Regions from separate parts of the Homo sapiens genome. Here all the other regions are linked to region 1. Evidence: promoter capture Hi-C in 16 types of primary human blood cells and fetal thymus (Javierre and others, 2016). All regions are on one chromosome and are shown on one strand. Each heading gives the region's core, a stretch centred on a gene start or on the middle of the fragment in contact. The rest is flanking DNA. Distances are from core to core; before and after follow the strand shown.

Evidence for each region. The method cuts DNA at HindIII sites, captures the fragments that hold promoters and counts their contacts. A CHiCAGO score of 5 or more calls a contact.
Region 2: a contact is called between a fragment that was not itself captured here and the fragment with the promoter of REG3G in region 1, in 1 of 17 cell types (naive B cells). The highest score is 6.5, in naive B cells.
Region 3: a fragment that was not itself captured here is called in contact with the fragment with the promoter of REG3G in region 1 in 1 of 17 cell types (naive B cells); the score reaches 8.0 in naive B cells.

What each region holds. Positions count from the first base shown.
Region 1 is chr2:79,023,195-79,026,968 of GRCh38, reverse strand. REG3G (regenerating family member 3 gamma) reads right to left here and starts at 1,267. Exons shown (of 6, transcript NM_001008387.3): 1 at 1,196-1,267; 2 at 800-986; 3 at 138-256. The coding sequence starts at 875. The HindIII fragment of the contact is 2,965 bases long and covers 1-1,816 here.
Region 2 is chr2:79,200,839-79,204,355 of GRCh38, reverse strand. It overlaps a transcript of CTNNA2 not described here. Among named protein-coding and RNA genes, the nearest start is that of REG3A, 43 kb to the right of the region's middle. The HindIII fragment of the contact is 1,350 bases long and covers 1,459-2,808 here.
Region 3 is chr2:79,218,480-79,222,303 of GRCh38, reverse strand. It overlaps a transcript of CTNNA2 not described here. Among named protein-coding and RNA genes, the nearest start is that of REG3A, 61 kb to the right of the region's middle. The HindIII fragment of the contact is 1,093 bases long and covers 1,497-2,589 here.

The DNA.
Region 1 (3,774 bases), core at 18-2,517:
AGGTGGGAGGAGGACTGTGTGAAAGATAAGCGTGTTCATCCTCATTCCCAAGGAACTCTCCTGAAGGAGACCCTCCTCCCCCTGAGACCTGCATGGACTTTCCCCTATCACCTCCAACCCCACATCTAACCACTCACATCTGCATCCATCCAGGATTTTGGTGACAAAAACAAGGCATAGCAGGGGGAGCCATAGGCCTTGGAGCCTTTGGGACAGCTGATCCGTGGAGAGGGCAGTTCCTTCTGGGTTTCTTCACCTGGGGTGGAAGAAAAGGGAGAGAGTAAAATGAAGAGTAGGGGGTGGGTGGGAGATGACCTTGGGGAATATCTAGGTCTGCCCTTGGGGAGGAAGACCACATTCCTGACAGCTCTTCATCTTCCCTTGTGTTTTCAGAAGTTCTTTATCTCAAAATAGCCCTACTAAATGGGCCACCATCTAGTCTGTTATTACCCTTTCCCCTTATTCAACCATTCAACACTCTCTTCACTGTGGGCTATCTCTATATTGGGTCCTCCAATCATTGTCCCTCCCCACATCTCATTGCTGACCCTCCACACTTTCCCACCAGTGTATATTAGAGTCCACTGACTAAATGGAAGCCATCTCATTCCATTGTTAGTGGACCACAGTGGAGCCTCCCACTGCAAGTTAACATGAAGGAAGGAGTGATGATGCAGGAACTGCAGGCAGTTTCATTAGACACCACGTCATTACCTCACGTGACACACAGGAGCCTTCCTCCTTTTCTTGGCTCTGAGGATTCATAGGGAACCCAGTGCTAGAGGCAGAGAAATCTCACCTTGAACCTGACACAGGAGAATGAGGCAGGAAAGCAGCATCCAGGACACACTGGGCAGGGCCATGGGAGGCAGCATAGTGTCTGCGACTTGAGGAGGCAATCGGGTCACTAAAGGAAGTGTGGTCAGCGGGAGGACACACAGATATCCTACTGCCTCTTGTCTTTTTCCTTCTGTAGTCCCCTAGGACTGAAGTGATCTTGGTCACATTCATCATCTTCTACAGTTCTGAATGAGCTGTGAATCTGTGTACTCACCCATCCCTGAGACCTCCCAGTACAGCCTTGCTGAGTCTCAGAGCTCCTGTGCTCCCTGAGGAAGGGACCCTCCCATGCGTTCTCCTGTATTATGTGAGGTTGCCCTTCCACAGGTCTCATCTTCTCTCAGCTCCCACTTACCTCTCTGGTGAGATCTGGTATGCTTTGTCTGGTCAGCAAAGACTGGGTTTTTTATAAAAAGATCTCAGGGATGGTCACTGGAGTGAATAACGGCAATATGTAGGCGGGACAGGGGTCATGGAGAGGGCTTGGCATTGGTTCAAAAAGATTATGCCAAGGGGAGGAGACTCTTCCTGGCAAAGGCTGGGAATTGTTACAGATGTTGCCTTTTTCTCTGTAGCAGGCCGGCACTTTCCCCACAAACAGTTGAAGTTTGCACTTTTCCCACCCTCTTCCAGATATCTTCTTCTGAGAAACTTAAGGGAATAAAGGCAGTCTTGTGAGCCTGGTATTATATAGTTTAGAAAATATTATGATATTACATAGTTATGAGAAATGTCAAAAGTTTGTTTTTGATCAACGTGCCAGGAGCTCACTTCTATAGGCATACATATGAATTCCTTTATACCTTATCTAGTAACATTTAAAATAAATTAATAAATAAAAATTGGGTGGGCATTAAAATTAGATGTGTTGGCAAAGACAATGTATTAGTCGAAATAAAGAAACAATAGAAACCAGAAGCAGCAGCACTGGTTCAGTGTTGCTACTTCAACTTCACAGCAAGATGTAAAAGAAGCTTGAAATAATCTTGTGAGTCATTAGGCAAGCCAGGGTCTTATGGAACAGCAGTTAAATAGATTTGCCTTCCAGCTACCTTTGTGTGAGAAGACCAAGAGATAGTTCCTTGGTTTATTGTAGTTCTGCGCTGACAGTTTGATATCTCAGAGTAGCGTTCTTAGATTGTGATCTACACACCAATGGGGGTCTTCAGGGCCTGTTTGGAGTGGTTGTGCAGTTATAATTTTCATAATTATACTAAAGTGTTATTCGTCATTTTCGCTATGTTGACATTTGCACTGATGAGGCAAAATAAATGGTGGATAGAAGTTCTGGTGCCTTAACATCAATCAAGGCAGTGGCACCAAATTGCATTGCTCATATCCACGCACTTGCAAGAAACAAAATAAAGCCATTTTTACTTGAAAATGCCCTTGAACTTGATGAATCAGGGTAGTGAATTGGCTTCAGTAAATCTCAACCCTTGAATACATCTAGAGGGAATATTCTGTATGACTAAATGGGAAGCTGACATGCTAAAGTATAATGGTTGTCTTGAGGGAAATAATTTGTAACACTGAGTTTTAGTTCACTATTTCATGGAACACCATTTTTACTTGAAAAATAAACCAAGACAAACTTCACTTACTGACATATGGGTCTTTTGTTAACATGTTTTCAAAAAAGTTCAAAGTGAGTTAGTAAATGAATATTTTTAACTTTTCTCTTTTACTATATATTATTATAAATATCAATAGCTCACATGAACAAAATTTTTTTTCGAGTGTCCTCAATATTTTTTAAGAGTGTTAAAGGGTCCTGAGATCAAAACAGTTTGAGATCTCTGGTTAACATCTAGCTGGCAATTTCCAGAAAATATAGGACATGGGGATGGTATTATATTACAACACAGGAATACCATCAGCAAAATTTAGAAGGTGGGAAATTCTACAGGACAAATAAGTACATTTCCCCAGCAAGTGAATTTAAGGAAATAAAACAACATCTCACTCTTAACATGTGAAAAATATATCAATCAAATAAAATGTGTGAACCATGTTTGGATCTTGATTTGAACAAATTAAATAAAAAATATAATTATAAAACAATTGGGTAAAAGTGAGCATTTGATAATGTTAAAGGACTATATCATGTTCAGATGTAATTATAATATTGAAATAATATTATTTAAAGTATCCTTATCATTTAAGATACATAACACAATATTTACAGATGAAATGGTTATTCAGAATTTACTTCAAAATAATCAAGCATGATAGAGATAAAGAAAGAGAGAGACAGATAAAACAAGAGAGGACTTGAGGTCATGAGAGTTGTTGCTTGGTGGTAGGTACATAATGATTCATAACACTATTGTCTTTGGGTTTTTATCTAAAATATTGGTGGAAAATTTTGAGAAAAAGAAAAATTCAGGGCCATCGTGAGAAAGAAATTTGAAGGACAATCTGACTCAAGAACACAGATGCAAAGTTCCTGAACAAAACACAAAACAAATTGAATTCATTGTTTTATATAATAAATGAAGAGAAAGAAGAGTTAATCTTGGAAATGTAATGATAGTTTATTATGATGAACTATTAATGCAATTTCCAAGTTCAGAAGTTAAAAGGGAAAAAAATATATAGTCATTTTAAAAGAACAAAATTGTTAAGTGAAATTCAAAACCTATTAGTAACTGATAAAAAGTCTTAAAAACCAGAGTTAGACAGGAATAGCTTTAACACAGTAAAGAAATCTATAGAGACTCAAAAGTAAACTACTGACAAGACTTCCTTAAAAAATCAGAAATATACAAATGTACCACCCTCATTGATTCTATTTAACAATATCGTGTGATAGAAAGTACACTTAGAAAAGAAAAAAAAATTTAAACAGGGAAAAAGTAAATTAAGTTGTCACTATTTGCATATGACATGCTGTCTCCATAGAAAACCCAGAAGACTCTTCAAATTAGTTGT
Region 2 (3,517 bases), core at 884-3,383, 180 kb before region 1:
TGCAAAGAGGGACAGGAAAGACTTGCCAGAGCATAACAAAAGAAATAGGTGTCCGATGAAGAAAGAGCTGCCAAAAGGCAAAATAAATGGCAGGTCAGCGTGGCATTCCTGAGCTGCAGCTTCTGTTGTGCCACCAGCCTTCAGTGTGACTTTGGTTGACAGGCCACTTCCCCTCTGGGACCTCTGTGTCCTCATTTGGAAAGTACAATATTGAACTAGATAATTTCAAAGGCACCTTATGGCTCTGATATTCTGCAATCCCATTATTATTACTTTAAATGCTGAAGCATTTCCTTAATAGGGAAGAAATTAAATGTCTTAACCCTTGGCTATTAATATCATCTGTTCCTACATTTAATGGGTTGAGATGAGTCACAGAGGATGAAAGACACTATAGCTAAGGATGTCAGCAGAGGTGACAGCCACTTCTACCTCAGGTGACCATGGGAAGCAACAGCTGGCATATTTTATACAATTCAGATGAGACAGGGAAGAACAAATGACACCTTTGGGCCTTCATTGGAAAAAAGTAGTCTAAAAGCATCAACTGCTATCCTTTGATGCTCAGATACTGCCTCCTAGTTAATGAAGGCAAAAGTATAATTTAAGAGCAGTGGTTAATGCTTTGACAAAGAAAAGGCGGCCCTGAAGACTTGATAACCTTTCGTTCTTGTCCCTGAAGAATTTTTGGATATGTTATGTGCAAAAAACATTTTTGCATTTGATTTAAAAACTATGCATTGTCTATCATACATGCTTCTGGGCAGTGGGTTCCAGAGCCTGTTCATTGTCTTTGAGCTATTTTGCACCTGTTTTTCAAATGCAGGTAACTGATGGATATGCAAACTGTGTCTTATCCAGCAGCATTTCCATTGGCTTCCCTCCCCACTGTGGAAAAAGTCTTTTTCCCTCCATTTGTAATTCGATTTCTTGACTCTATATGTTTGTGCTTTTTGACATTTACTTTGAACTAGTTCCTTTATATGAGTTAAATAAAATCTTTAACATATGTTTCATTTATATGAGTCATGATTTTGCCATTTTCTGAATATTATTTTCTAATGAATTTGGATCTGCGCTTAGTTTAAAATAATAACTGGAGTGAGATTTAAACAGTTCTTCATTAGAAATGAACAGGATTTTGGAGATTTGGGGACTGCCAACTTTCAAAGAGGAGAAAACATGCAACCCCAGAGCTGTGGGAAGCAATAGGAGAGTCCCAACAACTTGGCTACCTGTGGGGATGGGGAAGAAATGAGAGATGATGGAGGTGGCAGGGAAGGCGAGAGAAGAGAGTAGTAGTGAGGAAAATGGCAGGGAAGAAAGATAAGCTGTCAACTGAGAAATTCTACATGGAAGAAAGGAGTTAAAGAACTTTAAATCCATTCGGATCTACTGGTAAACTACATTGATCTCTGTTTACTATGCTTCAGGACCCTCTTCTTTCACCTCAAAGCTTTGTTAAAAGCAACTGCACCCACAGCTTTGAATTTGTGACCCTTTTGGGGATGAAATATGGAGATGCTATCTTTCATGGCTAGAGCCATGTGAGAACAATGGCTGGGCTTGTGGGAGAGAGATGCAGACTGTAGTAAAGACAAAACAAACAAACAAACAAACAAAGAAACGTAGAACCATAAGCCCTTCCACCCCCAAAATGTATGGAAACATTGAGGGAACTTCACCTAGTACAAGGGATGTAATATTGAGCTATTCTCTCATAGGATTAAAGAAAATGGTGACAGAAGCATTGAAGATGTGTTGATACCAAGGGAGCTGAAATTTAGGTTACAGGGGAAACGGAGTTAGGTTTCTGATATGGTGCATTCACGCAATCTTTCTTCTAAGAACAACTAAAATCTGCAACTGCCTGTAGTTCCAGATGTTTGGGAGGCTGAGGTGGAAGGATCACTTGAACTCAAGAATCCAAGGCTGCAGTGAGCTGTGATTGCACCACTTCAGTTCAGCCTGGGTGACAGAGTGAGACCCTGTCTCAAAAAAATAAAAAAAATAAAAAAAATAAAAAAACAAGTGTGTGGAAATTATCTTTTTTGAAATCTGACTGAGAGTACTGTGAAAGGAAAATAAATCTTGAGACTCCAAAATCACCAAGCTAAAGAAGAAAATCAAGCTGGGAACTGTTTAAGGTAAACCTGCTTCCCATTCTATTCAGTCATCCCTCTGAGGCTTACCTGAGACAAATGCATGTGTCATTGCTTCCTCTGCTAATCATTTATGTAAAAATGCAGATTCACTGAGCTGGAGTAAATTGTGTATTCAATGGAGGCTGATCAAGGACTCAAAAGATTACAATCATTTGTCTCTTATCTACTTCTAATCTGGAAGCTCCCACTTCAAGTTGTCCCATATTACCGGACTGAACTAGTGTACATCTCACACATATGGAATGATGTCTCATGTCTCCCTAAAACGTATAAAAGCAAACTGTACCACTGATCACCTTGGGTACATGTCTCAGGATTTCCTGAGGCTATGTCATGGGCATATCCTTAACATTGGCAAAATAAACACTATAAATTGACTGAGACCCATCTCATATATTTGGGGTTCACATTTTGCTAACCACGAAGGGATTCTGAGTGGAAGAGCTGCTGACCTTTGAGAAATCTCCTATTAGGGCTTGGTACCAGCTTGAGTTTCTTTATGGCTCAAACCAGTAGGACAATTTGCTGAGGCCTGGAAGCTCCCCCTCCAGAGAATCCCTGATCTCCCAAAATCTGGTCAATATTTAAAGATTATTTTGCTAGGAAAAATAATTTTTATTTCCAACTCTTGTTGGAAGAAGCTTTACTTCCTTCCAACAAGGAAGGCAAGCTTTCCTGCTTCCACGACAATGGAAGGCAGGTAACTTCTTTCTGGAATTCGAGCTCATTTCCAACAGGGAAGGAAGGTGAATTTGAGTTTTTTCCTGCTTCTAGGATGGTAGAGAGCAGTCTTCAGCCTGAGACCCATCCTCAGGTAAGTAGCTGAATTGGGGTTTTGTCTTGGCTAAAGTTAAGATGAACAACCAGCTGGTCTTAATTTCTCCTTACCATTAGAGTGCTCAGTAATTATATAAATTGTGTGATCATTTGTTTTGCTTAACTGTTTTTGTTGTTGTTTGTTTGTTTCTGTTTTTATTGTTTCAGTCTTTTTCCCATTGCATTTGACCAGCTCTATCTGACTTGACGAAATCTGAAGGAAAGTTCCAATTCAAGGGGAACAAAGCCTCTGATGTGGCTAAATTTCCACAAAAAAAGGGGGGGGGAAATGTTTTATTTTGATTACTTAAGGGGTTTTATTTACATAACAAGGCCATCTTTTTGCTAGCCAAGTCAAACTGAAAGAGCAATAGCTGTTGCCCCACATTGTAGTTTCATAGCTAAGGTTCTGACATCTGTTTTTTTTCTTCTTTACCACAATAGCCTGGGTTTGGTTTCTAAATCAAACCCTTTCAGATTTGATACTTATTACTTCCGAAATATTGGCAATTTGTCTTTGCTAAAATATGGTAATG
Region 3 (3,824 bases), core at 794-3,293, 190 kb before region 1:
CTGTGTGCCAAATCTGACCCTCAGTAGTGGTTTATTTGACAACACACATTTCATGGCTAATATTAATGTCTGTGTTTTACACACAGCCTCATAGAAGCCTTTATATCGCCTGCCTGGTGTCTCGAGGCATTTGTGTTATAATCCTGGTCCTGGTGCTGGGTCTAATCAGAGAAGCAGCATGCTTTGACTCCCAATTACGGGGCTCTCTGAACACAGCCAGTTCTGAGAACTCTCTCCTGGAATGGGGCACCATTTCCATCTCTTCCCAGAGATCCATGCCAGGGGCTGGGCAGCTTTTTCATTTAATCTCTGGACACAGAAAAGGCCTCATTAAATCCTTTCTTTGAGTAGTAGTACTATATAGCCACACAGCCTATACCCTCTACACTTCTGAGAGCCGTTATCTTCCATGACCACAAGTGTCCTCAGGTACCCTCCTGGGCTGGTGGTAGAGAGGTTCTCACATTCAATGACTCAAATCAAAGTGAATTTCCTGGCACCTTTTCTCACTAGAGAAGATTATCTGTGACTGGGTTGCCTATAAGCCATATAGATACAAACTTTTATCTCTAATACCAAGTCTTAGAGGGATATATTAATAGATCTAATAAATTTATTCTTAGACTTATTGTTTCATGGGCTAGTGAGTCTTTGCTACTGGAGACAATACAGACTTGTCAGTTTTTTAAAAAAAAAAAATTTGCCAAGCTAGCACATTAAAAAGATCTCCTAAGGCTATCATTTTATGAGGATGATTATAAACATTTCTGTGATAAATATCACCATAATAAACTGTTAAGTACAACTGCAAGTATACCCTTAGAGTGAATTCCTACAGTTAGAAATTTATATTTTTGCCAGCTGCAGTGGCTCATGCCTGTAATCCCAGGACTTTGGGAAGTCGAGGAGGGAGGATTGAGGCCAGAAGTTTGAGACAAGTCTGGGAAACATAGCAAGGCTCCATCTCTGCAAAACAAAACAAAAATAATTTAGGAAGGCATGGAGGTACAGGTCTGTAGTTCCAGCTACTTGGCTGAGGCAGGAAGATCGCCAGAGCCCAGGAGCTTGAGGCTGCAGCAGTGAGCAGTGTTTGTGCCACTGCATTCCAGCCTGGGCAACACAGCAACACCTTGTGTCAAAACAACAACAAAAACAAAACAAATTTGAGATTTTTTTTAGCTTATTATTATTGCTGTAATAAAATTATTGAATTTGTTCCTTTATTTCGTAATTGACTTGCTTTCTAGAAATTTTATAAGATAATGTTTTTGCACTAGAAGTCACTGCTGAGTTAACAAAGTCTCCCAACACACTGAAGCAGCATTTTGAGAAACATGAGTTCAATCTCAATGTTTATTGCTTGTTTATTTCTCAGTATTTATTATTATCACCTAATCTATGATCCCTTCCGATTGAGAAAGATTAACAATGTGTGCAGAGTTGTACAAAGATAAATACATACCTGTTTATCTTTCCTACAGCTCTCAGGTGAAGCTTTAATTATTTGGTGAAACAGTTAAAAATTTGGCTAAGGTCATGCTAGAATATAACTTATTGATTTCTATGAGGGTGGATACTTTTTTTCAATTTCCCAGTTTCTATGAGGAGAGATTTTTCCCTAGACAATCTGGCCAACCTTTAAGGTTTTCTACCAAAGTAGAATACCTTGTCATGTAGAGAATGTACAATGCCCATCTGCTTACTCTAAACAATCTTGTATCGCCCTCCTTGCCTCCTCCATCTGGCCCTTCTCACTTGGGCCACCTGCCCACAACATGCACTCCTGTGGCCTGTCTCTGTGGCCTGTAATTCTTACAGGGACCCACCCCAGAGGAGGCCTGAGGCTTCCTGGAGCTGCTCGTTGAGGTGGTAGAAAGTCTACTTCTGGGATTCAGTGTTAGAATTTCTATCATTCCTGCACCACAAAGCCACACTTGTAAACAGTTCTGCCAGTAATAAAGTGGATGTTTTTGTCTTCATCTGCCTTCCACCATTAGCAATCTCTTAATTAGTTCCAAACTTAGTTGGAATAAGAGATCTTAATTTTCCCACCCTTTGAATCACTCAGAACTCATCTATTCAATATACATTTACATATATATACACACACACACACATATATATATACACACACACACATACATATATATACGGCCAATTTTGAGAATTGTGGGTTAGATTTGGGGGAAGCGCTGATTAAGAGTTGAATCAGTCAAAGAAAGTGCAAAATATACTAGAATTTACAACAAAACTCTAACAAAAATGCAGAGTGAATCTGCAGAGCAGGCAATATCAATAGACATATGTGAAGATGAATAGGAAAACTCCTAGGAGGATACGAGTATCTGTAGCACTTTAAAGCAAAGAGCGCTTTCGAATAGCAGAACAAAGGAAGAAAGGATGAATTTCAGGTGCCAAAAGGTCCTAGAGATTCTTGCTGTTCACGAAAGGGTCACCAAAAGGATGTCTCTATCCCAAATGGCAAAGACACACTTATTCTCAGAGTTAGCCCAGGCACTCACTGTTTCTCCTCTGCAAATTCATTTGCCCTGTTCCATGGTGTGTTTTAGCAACTGCAATCTTTAAGCTTGCAGATACTTTATATAAGCTACGAATTGAGCTTTTATGATCCACGAATATCATGGATTTACCACTTCCAGGGTGCTTGCAGGTGTAAATGCACTTTGGTTTCAATTTTCGAGGCCATATTCTAACAGGCCACAAGATGGCGGTATTCCTGCGTACAAGCAGATCCTTAAAGTGACCTTAACCTCACAAGTTTAACAAATAAAGTAGTCACTAGCCACATATGGCTATTTAAATTTAAATTTATTAAACTAAGGTAAAATAAAAAGAATTAATTCCTCAGTTGCACCAGCCACATATCAAGAACTCAATAGTCACATGAGGGCAGTGGCTACTCTATAGGACGGTGCGAAATAAAACATTTCCATTTTCACAAAGTTTTAAATTAGATTGTTTTCCCATTTAAAAAGAGTGGAGGCTTTAGAAAGTGCTGATTCTGATTCTTTCTATAATTTATAACACTGAACAAATGGAAACATTTAAATGTTCAGCAACAGAATATTGGTCATCTAAATTGTGATATAAATGATATAATGAAATATTACATAGCCATTAAGAATAATGTTTTCTTAGAATGTGAAGGATGCTCATGGTACAATTTTAGGGAAAAAATAGGAGGAAGTAAAGGCGTTTACATATGTATAAATACAAATATGAAATATATCATTCAAAATGTGGCAATTTTGTACTATACATACATACACACACCCTTGCATAGAAAGAAAGACATCATAATATTACCAGAGATTAACTATGAGTGGTAAAATTATGGAGGATTTTATTTTCCTTTTAGAACTTTCCTTTATTTTCCATTTTTCTCCCAAGATTAGAAAACAAGTATCAATCAAAAATTGCCATAAAAACAGTATAAGTTTTTGAACTTTAGCAAAAAGTTACACAATGTCTGAAAGATTCTGGTAATTCACTTTTTGAAAAACTTTAAAGCAGAATACACTCATAATTATGCATAATTATTATCACCAACGCAGTTTCCAAGATCCGTGATTTGTACCATGTTGCTCAGGCCTGCGATGGTGGTCTCTGATCCTCCCTATAGTGCTACAGTAGTTTAATACCTGAACCCAGTGTTCCATTCTCCATGCAAACATTAGGAAGCAAACTGGCAACACTTATATTGTCAAAACTGTCCTAAATGAGAGTCTCTTCCGAGTCCCTACTGCTACTCCTTAACTCACAAACATTCTTTTTTCACTGACACTTACAGAAATGAAGGAAGC